Regions from separate parts of the Homo sapiens genome. Here region 2 is linked to region 1. Evidence: promoter capture Hi-C in 16 types of primary human blood cells and fetal thymus (Javierre and others, 2016). All regions are on one chromosome and are shown on one strand. Each heading gives the region's core, a stretch centred on a gene start or on the middle of the fragment in contact. The rest is flanking DNA. Distances are from core to core; before and after follow the strand shown.

The links. The method cuts DNA at HindIII sites, captures the fragments that hold promoters and counts their contacts. A CHiCAGO score of 5 or more calls a contact.
Region 2: the fragment with the promoter of MARCHF11-AS1 here is called in contact with the fragment with the promoter of MARCHF11 in region 1 in 1 of 17 cell types (total B cells); the score reaches 5.2 in total B cells.

Annotation. Positions count from the first base shown.
Region 1 is chr5:16,177,691-16,183,096 of GRCh38, forward strand. MARCHF11 (membrane associated ring-CH-type finger 11) reads right to left here and starts at 2,101. Exons shown (of 4, transcript NM_001102562.3): 1 at 1,349-2,101; 2 at 36-191. The coding sequence starts at 1,885. It overlaps MARCHF11-DT (MARCHF11 divergent transcript), which reads left to right and starts at 2,551. Exons shown (of 2, transcript NR_149044.1): 1 at 2,551-2,750. LOC105379640 (a long non-coding RNA gene) reads right to left here and starts at 3,114. Exons shown (of 3, transcript XR_001742613.2): 1 at 2,955-3,114; 2 at 2,736-2,809; 3 at 2,255-2,389. The HindIII fragment of the contact is 7,324 bases long and covers 1,289-5,406 here.
Region 2 is chr5:16,127,441-16,132,428 of GRCh38, forward strand. MARCHF11-AS1 (MARCHF11 antisense RNA 1) reads left to right here and starts at 1,691. Exons shown (of 2, transcript XR_001742612.2): 1 at 1,691-1,854. The region is part of intron 2 of MARCHF11 (membrane associated ring-CH-type finger 11); the gene reads right to left. The HindIII fragment of the contact is 312 bases long and covers 1,634-1,945 here.

The DNA of each region.
Region 1 (5,406 bases), core at 851-3,350:
TTATTTCAGGAAAAATAAATGTTGAAACTGCTTACCTGGCAAGGTTGTTTCATTTTAATGGCTATAACATGGTATCTATAACAGCAAAGTTCACAGGTCCAGGAACCTCTCTCACTGATCCATTTTAGCAGGCACAGCTGATGTGTATACCGAACTGACCCATCACATCGGCAGGGGTTCAACAACTCACCCTAAAAAGAAAACAGCTCAGTGTGAATATCTGTGTCTGTGTCTCTATTTTAAAAACCTAATGCTTCCTTTCTTTTCTTTCAAAGCCATTTACTCAGGATACAGCATCAGGCTCTATCATAGGAAATGAAATTAAAATTTTATACCTCTGATGGGAATGAAACTAAGTCTTAAAACTATTTCAAAGACATTGCTTAGAGTTATGACATAAATGTTCTACCAACATACAAAATGTCTGCAAGATATAGCTCCCAATACCCGTGGGGGAAAGCTGTACTATTAAATCTCTTTAATAACTTTTAAGTGGATGGTCAGATGCATTTCCTCTGCAGTTATTCTTAATCATTGCTAAAGAAGAAACGCATGGCATCCCAGAAAGCGGCATTATGCTTTTTTTTCTAAATGTAGCATCATAAATATTGTCTTAGGGCACTATATTCCTGAAAGCCTGTATATTCTTATGCAATTTCCTTACTTTTAAAAACATTACACCTAATCTTTTCTCAGACCACACATTTGTAAGGGACATATGCTATCATTTCCTCTGCATGATTACTCTCATATAAGTTTGCATGCACCTACAATGGTGTTTATAATTTTAGAATTGTGTTGCTGTCAAAATATAAATTGTTGGCATAATAGCCTTTCTTTCAAAGTCCATTCCTATTTCTCTTGTAAAAACTATCACATGCTTTTCACATCCGTGAGATTAAGTCACCCAAATTTGCAGTAAGGAAAGACTCTGCCCTTTCTGGTTGTGATATGACATCTGTCTCAAGATACATCTGTAGAAAACGGACTTCACCTTACATCTGACAGGTTTGCTTCTAAGCATAAACCAAAATCCATCGAATAATTCACAAAAGCCGCTTTTGGCATTATCACTAAAGCACCTGAGGAACATGTAGCTCCTAAGCCAGGAAGGAAAAAGGAAGTGTAGATGAAATTAAACCCAGTATTCACCACTGGGACATTTCTATTTGCCTTCACAGGAAGGGAAAGGGGAAGGCATATTGGAGCCAGCGCTCACAGGGCAGAACCAGACGAGCCTCACTGGAGGCAAACTGGGAGGTAGGCGTGCGCTGTCCGTGGTGCTGAAAGCTTGACCGGCGCGAGCTGGAGCCGCCACCGGCTGCCTCGGGGTCTCGCCGGGCCTTACCTGCTCCGCGCCCTGGAAGCAGATCTTGCAGATGGGCTGGTGGTGCTGGTGCTGGTGCCCAGCGCGCTGGTCGCCGCCGCCACTGCTGCTGCTGCGGCTGCTGCACACCGAGCGCGTCTCGGGCTGGTCTCCGGCGCCCCGCCGCTCGCGCTCGCCGCCCGCGCCGGCCTCAGACTCCCCGGGGCCGCCTTTCGCTGCTGCCGCCTCCGGGAGGCGCCTCGGACCTTCCCCGGAGTCGCCGGCCGCCGCCACTTCCTGGCCGGCGGGCTGCAGGGGCAGGGGCGGAGGCGGCAGCTCGTCCGCTCCCCTGCACCGCGGGGCCACCTCCCCTAGCGGCTCGCTTGGCCCCGCGGCGCGCTCGGGGGTCTCGGGGGACGCGGGCAGCGGCGGCAGGTAGCGCGGGGCCGCGGGGACCGGGGCCGGCTCTCCCGGCGGCGGCGTCGGCGGCGGCGGCGGGGGAGGTTGCGGGGGAGGCTCGGCGTCCCCGCTCTCCGCCCCGCGACACCGACTGCCGCCGTGGCCGCCCTCAAAGCTCATGGTTGTGCCGCCGCCGCCCTCCTGCCGGCCCGGCTGGCGGGCCGGGCTCTGGCTGCAGGGAAAGAGAGCGCGGAGGGGGCGGGAGGGAGAGGGGAAAAGGAGGGAGGGGGCCCGGACGCCTGGGGCTAGGGGGCGGGACGGGGAGGGGATGCGGAAGGTTCTGCAGCTGCGGCGGCGGCAGGCGCGGCCGTTCGGTGGAGCCGCCGGCTCGGCTCTGATGGAGGCGGCGCCGAATTCGGCTGCGCGTGAGAGCCGCGCCGCGGAAGGGGGGGCCGGAGAAGCGAGGGGGCGGGAGGGAGGAGCGGCGCGGCGGGGGTGACGGGGCGCGGGCGCGGGGTGGGCTGGGGGCGCGGATCAGTGGGACGGAGTTCGGGGTTCGGCTCCGAGCGGGCGGGCTGGAAGTGGGGGATCCCTCAGCCGCCTCCACGGGCCGGCCCCGCGCTCACGTCGGTTCCGGGGCGGATGACCCCTCTCCAAACGGCGCAGCGCTGCGGCTCTCGTGAGCTGGGAAGTAGGGGGCAGGGGAGAGGCCGCGGGTCCAGAAACCGTTACTGGATGGGCCGGTGGGATGTGGCGCGGGCCGGGTGGGGCGCGACAGTCTGAGCCGAGACCCGCGTGGGCTTAAGGGTGCGCGAGGCGGGTGCCCTGGGCGCGCCCGAACTGGCTGAGCAGTGGAGCGGGAAAGGGCGCGGGACCCGGGACTGTAACCGCCACTTCCAGGCCCTCGCTCCCCGCGCTTGGAGCCCTCAAGGGCACTCTCAGGGATCCTCGAGAGCCTTAAAACAGAAGTCTCTGGAACCTGTGTCCTCTCCCTGTCTGTCCCGCCCTCGAATCCCTGTGTCCTCCTCACCCGCTCCCTCCTGCAGTGAGCATCCCGGGTTGTTGGTAAAGATCTTGGTGCCTGGGAGGTCGGAGCTTCGTCTCCTGAAATGGTTTATACTAGTGAACCCTGGCGCCACGTTCTGTGGCTTATAATCACTTTCGTCGTTGCCGCATGAGGAAGCAAATGACACCGCCCCTTACCCTGGAAAAGTGGCTGCAGCCTTCCCCGGATCTTAGTTTTACTCACCCCGAAGTCAATTTCTCGGTAACTCCACCCTGCAAAACCTCTGTGGGACTCATCTTCAGGGCAGAGCTAACAGTTTTCTTTCTGGAAAAAAAAAAAAATCCCTCACCTGCAGGGAACTAGGCTGAGAATCGTGCACATGCAGTAGTTTCCAAATCCGTGCAGTGTGAGATCATAAAGCACCGGATTTATATGCGGCAGTGTGTCTATCCGAATTTTCACTGATGTGACGCTTTCAGTCTTTGACACAAAGACACAGAGCAGTCATTTTTGGCAGCGTTTCATAGCCGAAGACCCAGGATCAGAAAGGCAAAATAACTTGTTCAAGGTTATAGAACTATTAACAAAGAACTTCTGTGTTCCCTGACCAGATTTTCTGGTTCAAATGCCAATAATTTTTTCTTCCAATCCTTTCTTCTGCCTCCTAAAATAGTATTGTAGTACATTGTGTGTTTGGCGCCATTGATTCCCACTAATAGATACTCTGTAATGGCTGAGATAAACTACTAGCTTAAGTTCGTTTTTCCATTTCACGTTTTGGCAGTAAGAAGTATATTTGATTCATAAAGAAGACCTACCTCTTTTGACAGAAATTGGTTCCATTTGCCAGAGAGAGAAGGTAGTGAAAAATAATTCAAGAATGTTTTGTCACAAATGGTCTCTGATGAACTAGTTTCCAGGAATGTCCTCTAACACTTAGCCCCTTCAGACTGGCTATTTTTGGTGGCAGAGTGGCAGGCAGCAAGCACATTTTTAAAACAACAATCTCCAGGAACTTACCACGTTGAAGAAATGTGGTTGTCGATATGCTTTCATTTTTGGTCTTCACCTGTCAGAATGACAACGCAAGTTTGTGTATTGCCACAGTCAAGATAATCATAAGCCTTATGATCATCATAAACCTTCTTCATAAGTTCTCGAGTTAAAGACTGTCTAGATTTGTACAGAATCCCCTAAATAATTCCATTTATGACTAGTAAATTTCTACCAGGTGTGATAAAGTGCATCGGTACTCGAAGGACAGCATAAAAGCTATGGGTTTTGTATAAACGGTGTAGAATAATTCAGACAGCGAAGCGGCATGGATAAAGGAGAAAAGGGCCACAAGGCTAGATGTGTCCTCTCAGTTAATTGTTTCTGAAAAATAAAAAAAAAAATACATTTGCTTGCTAAATTGGGTAGCCACGTAAGATTCCTTCCCGGTTTCAATGACCTCCAAAGCTGACCAGTCCCTGAAGGGAAACTTGCTCGTGATCTTCAGTTAACCCAATGCATTTTCAGTGGGTCCAGGAAAAACACCTTCTTTCTAACTTTGGCTACATCCTCTGTCATAAAATTATAAAATAATGGAATGCAGAAAGGATGAATTCCTCTCAGCTGCTGGCAACCAAGTGGAAGAGAGATGGAGACACAGACATCAGATAGAGCAGTGCGCCGGTGGCCACTGACAGCCATCAGTAGCAAGGCGCATCTGCCAACTGAAAATGAATGAGGGGAAATGCAGGTTTATCAAATTTGAGCAAATATTGAAAGGATGATCAAATCTTCATGATGCCAGTAAACCAGTTGTTCATTCATTTAGTTGTTTAAGCCAAAATCCTAAGTGTCATCCTTGACTTCATATCATACATTCAGTATACAAAAATTTCTTTCAAATGGACTTTCAAAATATTCACCAAATTTCACTACACCTTTTCACCTCCATCCCCACCAACCCAATTCAAACCACCATTATAATGCACGAAACTGTCAAAACAACTTCCTGTCTCCCTGCTTCTCATTCTTGAGCTTACACCCTACACCAGCCAGGATGATCCCATTCAGGTGTTAAGTCTAGTCATGTCATCCCTCTACTCAGTACCCGCCAATGGCTTCTCATCACACTTAGTGTAATACCAAAAATTTTAGCAGCCTCTGCAAGTCCTCATTGTAGCCTCTGGCTGCCTCTCTAAAGACCTCTCCATACCCTCCCCACCAGCCTACCCTACCCTCCTTGCTACTCATTTCTGCTACACTGGCATCCTTGCTGTATACCAAGTACATCCCCTCTACCCATCTTCAATTATTATGGCTCACTCCCTCACTTCACGCAGATTTCTGCATTTCATAAAAAACACCTTCCGGCCAGGTGCGGTGGCTCACGCCTGTAATCCCAGCACATTGAGAGGCCGAGGTGGGTGGATCACCTGAGGTCAGGAGTTCCAGACCATCCTGGCCAACATGGGCCAACATTGTGAAACCCTGTCTCTACTAAAAATACAAAAAATCAGCCGGGTGTGGTGGTGGGCACCTGTAATCCCAGCTACTAGGGAGGCTGAGGTGGGAGAATCACTTGAACCTGGGAGATGGAGCTTGCAGTGAGCAGAGATTGCACCATTGCACTCCAGCCTGGGTGACAAGAGCAAGACCTCATTTCAAAAAAAAAAAAAAAAGACCTTCCATAAATTTTCCATCT
Region 2 (4,988 bases), core at 441-2,940, 51 kb before region 1:
TTGAATGTGAGCAAACGGAACTTTTTACTGGATTAAGCCAGTGAGACTTTGAGATTTGCCCCCAAATCAACACCTAACAAGGCATATCTGAAGAGATCTGGTGAACCGCCTGGGTCAACACAGTAGAAGTTTATTTGTAGCTTCAAATAACTTCTGGATAAGGAATCAAGGACCACAATTACAATCTGCCATTGTTCCCCAGCAGGGAGGGACCGTCCTAACTGTAGTGAGGCATCTGCTTTGAAGATTTCTACTCCAACCCAGCTCCTAAGGCACATGCCTAGTATGTTGTAGGAGAGAAGAGGGGAGAAGAGATGTGCCAAATACTCTTGATTAGGCCTCCAGACCTCGTCTGTCTTTCTCTGCTTTGTTCTCAATCACAGGATCTGCCCGCCCCTCTGGCTTCTGGTTGAACGGGGTCAATGGAGAAGATTTTAGACTATCACACGGAGGAAGTGGAGTGAAGTCAGGGTAGCTGCTCCACTTGCTTTTTCCCTTTCTGGCCATGAACTTGGCAATGGCTACATTCTCCTACATGCTGCTCATCCCCTCTTTCACAGCTACAGCCTCCAGGAACTCTGTGCCTGCCCCTCCCAGGTGCTAGTGCAGTCCCTGAGTGCCTGCCATCTCTTGCTGCTGCTTCTAACCCTACTCATACCACCCACGAAACCTGCTGAGGGTTCCATCTGCTTCCTATCAGGGCTGATGCAGGCTACCTGTATTTTTATTGAAATTTCACAACACAAGGTAGCACTATTTATCTGGTGAAGCACCACCAAACAAGAAAAGGCAGATATCCTCCCTACTCTGACTCAAGGCTCAGTGCAGCTTGGCTATTTGAAGGCTCCCAGACACACACTGGCACCTGTGAGTGACGGAATAACACTCATATCTCTGGAGGTAAAAGGACCCAGCAGGGATCACGTTTGTCTGCAAGCAGTTCAAATGCAGGCACAAAAATGTGGCTGGGTACTTGTGCACAGCTTTGCAAGTTGCTGAGGAGCTATCAACTGCCAAGGTATGCCCAAAGCCACTGAGATAACCCCTAGGGATACCCAGAAATAGATGGGGAAGGGTTTAAAGTTGATCAGGGTCCCACTAAAAGAAGGACGGGCAAGAACCAGGGAAATAGAATTTAACGTTCTTCATTACCACTTACGTGATTCTAAGCTGGTGTGACCTGAGAAATAATCCTTTTTAGAAGAAGCTGCTATGGGAAAAATCATTGAACATAGAAAGTGTCTTAACAAAAGAAATAACCTCTTTGGAGTGGATTTTAGTTCACTGTTTATATGCCAAACTTGACTGTTTGTGTGTGTGTATGCATGTGTGTGTGACAACACCATTTCAAATGTGTCATTCAAAGTCCATAATAAAATGTATTCAATATTCAAAAATTTAGAAGAAAAATGTGAGCAAGCTTGGCCATCTGTTCATGCCAGTAATTCATAAACCATCAATTGTAGACGAATATTTAAGCCTTAGACATTTACTTATTCTGCCCTGTTGTACTTATTTCCATGTTCAAAACTGTCTTTTATTTTGCACATATGGCCACATCCTTTTCAACATTTATATTTTTATGCAAAGAAGTCCCACTAACCCTTGATTAGTGAGGGTTGGTCAGAAGACAAGCTTACTGCTTGAGTGGCTCTAATTTTAACAGCATCGTTCAGTCCTTCTACGTGGCAATCAGAACTTACACATCGTTCACTGTAGTTCATGCCATTTGCATGAAACTGACATAAGCTGACACTCTGCTGTATATCTTGGCACAATATTGCTTTCATCTCTGGAGTCGGGTGTCTTACAAATTTAACATTGTCAGTTGGGACCGTCCAAAGATATTTACAGGTATGTAAGATTGTAGAATGGCTGGAAATGTTTTCTGTCATCTTCTCATGATTAGCAGTGTTTGTTTGGTTATATTGGCATTGCTCAGGAAAGCTTTTCCCAGAATAAAGCGTGTCTTTCATTTCTTTCTATCAAGCAGTATATTAAAATAAACCATTTTTAAAATAATCATTACAATGGGAACAAATTCTTTATTGTTAAGTCAATTGTTTTATATTGAATTAGCTATGCCAAATTTAATTTAACTTAAAGATGTTCACATAATATTTATTTTAGAGTTATTTTATATTCTTATTATGCCTTAAGTAAATTATATTTCAAACAACTTGTTGGCTCAGCGATATTTTATTTCTACATTGAGTTTTAGCAACTCTAAAAAGGCTTTGTAAAAATTAACTGTAGGATGGAATAAGATATTTGCAATACCCTTCTTGAGTTTGTTTTCAGGTATTTCAAGAAGACATAGTGATTTCCAATTGACATTTATTCCAATAAGTTACAAAATTCTTTTGTTTGAAATCATTTTATGACATCTGGACCAACTTACTTTTATCTTAAGTGGCACTAGAGATATGTTACCAGAGCGAGGAAAGCCTATCAATGAGATCAGTGTCAAAAAACATAAATAAAAAATTTTAAAACGAGGAAGGAGTCAAATTTATGCTATGAAATCTGAAATTGATAAAGTTACCATCTCTTCCATTTTTAACATTTCAAGATAACATTTTCAAGAAAATCAATAGATGCAAATTATTTTAACAATTACAGAGAAATGAGAGATAATTATTTATTGCCACTAACCTTCTGTCTAACTTCGTTGGGTAAATACAGGTAAAATCTCATTTTAACATATTTAATAATTATATCCTGATTCATTTTGGAAATTTGGTCCACTTCTCAGCTAACAATTCATAGTAACTCTTGTACTGATTAAAAGACCGTAAATTCCAGGTACATACACACACACACACACACACACACACACACAAAAGATGTGTTCATCTTTTTTGTTAACCTTTACTCTGTCTTACTAGCCAATAAAGGTTATGAGCACTTCGATAAGATTCAGATCCTTAACTTGAACACATTTGCTAAGCTAAATAATTGTGAAATTGTGATTTAAAATGTGCTGGTGATATGTGGGCATTATGAATATAGTTTTGTTGTTTTGTGCACTTCTGTAAAGATTCTGGCTGGGCAGTTACAGAATATAATTACTGCAGGGTGCTACTAAATAGAGAGGATAAACTGTTCTTGGAAAAGAAAACTTCTTGGTTCTGGTAAAAATTCTCTTGGTGATGGCATACATGAAAGGAGCAGACATAAAAGGACAAACAAAAATAGCAATTTTATCAGTGTAAACAACCCAGAAGTGTCATTGAATGGAGTCAGGAATGCTCAAGGTACACTTCTAATTTGTATTGTCATTTTTGGGGTAGAAGACAAATGCCATCACAGGTTAATCTTAGCACTACTGCCAGGGATCAAACCATGAACTGACGGTCTAACCCCAAATATGTTTATGTAATTTTTACTAGACATCACATTTTCCATTCTCATTGAAATTAGTTCACCTTCTAACTCTTTTTGTATCTGACACAAATTATTTTAATGCATATGCCTGAAGGCTCCTGTTAATTTAACAGGCAAATATGATCTGATATCTTCTTCATTTTAAGTTGATAAGATAATGTTGAATATTTACACGTGCCTTTAAATATACATGTGAAAGCCAGCAGTACCTTGAATATTTCAATCAGCAGAGGATAGCCTGAATAATAGATAGAAGGGAAAGGTAAATTAACACAAATCAACATGTAATATTAAGGAAAGTGCTATAACAGTTCAAAGTAATTCCTTAAACAAGTTCAAAATTCTGGTTCTGATGGCAATGACTCCTAATTAATGTTTAAGGAAGAAAGCAAATAACCATCATGAAGAAGTAACATGCAGCAATGCAGTTTGGTTCAGTAAGCAGTCACATAATCCCCTTTGAATTACCTTCTATGGAGAAATGGGAGTAGAAAACAATTACCTAATAAACTAGTTTGTTATCTGTAATTTTCTAGACAACAAGAAATCAATTATGGAAACATATTCAATCCATTTTGAACTAGAATAAATATACAAATGTGTAATTATACTAAAAGAAGGGTGAAAAACATGTGGACCTTGGTATTAGAAAGGAAAGAAAAAATGCAATCTAAAACAAAATGTAATGTTATCAGCAAAGCAATGAGAAGAACTGGTCGGGGGTGGGAGTGGTGAAGAAAAAGGCAGAGGATTTAAGAGACCTGGGTATGAGACCTGTCTTTCAATGACCAACTCTGGAATCATAAATGAGCCGCTCAGCCCCTCTGGGATTCGGTTTCCTCTGATACAATGACGAAGTTGAACTTGGTGGTCTCCCAGATCCATTTCAGCTCAAACATTCTGGGAACATTGCCATTTCATGATGGACAGCTTAAATGGAAAGATCACTACTTCGTGCTTAAGAACTGGACCATATGTCCTTTTGTTTTTCTAAATACCTACTCAGTTCTAACTTTTGCTGGTGTCTGGTGTCAGATATTAAGTAGTGGTGATGTGGCATCATTTAAAGGGAGACACAATAATTAAGTAGCAGGTGCTCTGTGGTAAAGTAAAGTTCACTAACGTAGAAAGAACGAAAAAGGAAAGCAGTGAAGAAGCCACTGACTGCAATCCATGAGTGCCGTTCAGAGACTGGCTACGGGGGATTCATTTCATCCCTGATCCAGAGCCCCATGGCAAGGGCTCAGAGCATCTACCAACTGTGACTGTGGAGACTGACCAGATGGTGCAGGGGGATGCAGGATGTGTATAAGACTATAAACAGGTTTACTGCCATGTTCAGAGCCAAGTACCAAATTAGATATTCTCCAGGTGTTTAAATGGCCTAAGAGCAACAATAAGAGGAAATAAGTATACAGCTGAGAAGGAGAAGGGACACGGTGTGATGAGTGGCCAGCTGGCTATGTTCCTTTTCGTCTGATCTCATCAACCTTCAGGCCAGCCAGGTGGGTCCCAACAGTCCGACTTAGTACCTGTGCCAGGGTTCCACTCTTTTTGGTCTAGAAGTTTTCACTTCACTTTTGTCTTTAGCTTCTTCCTCC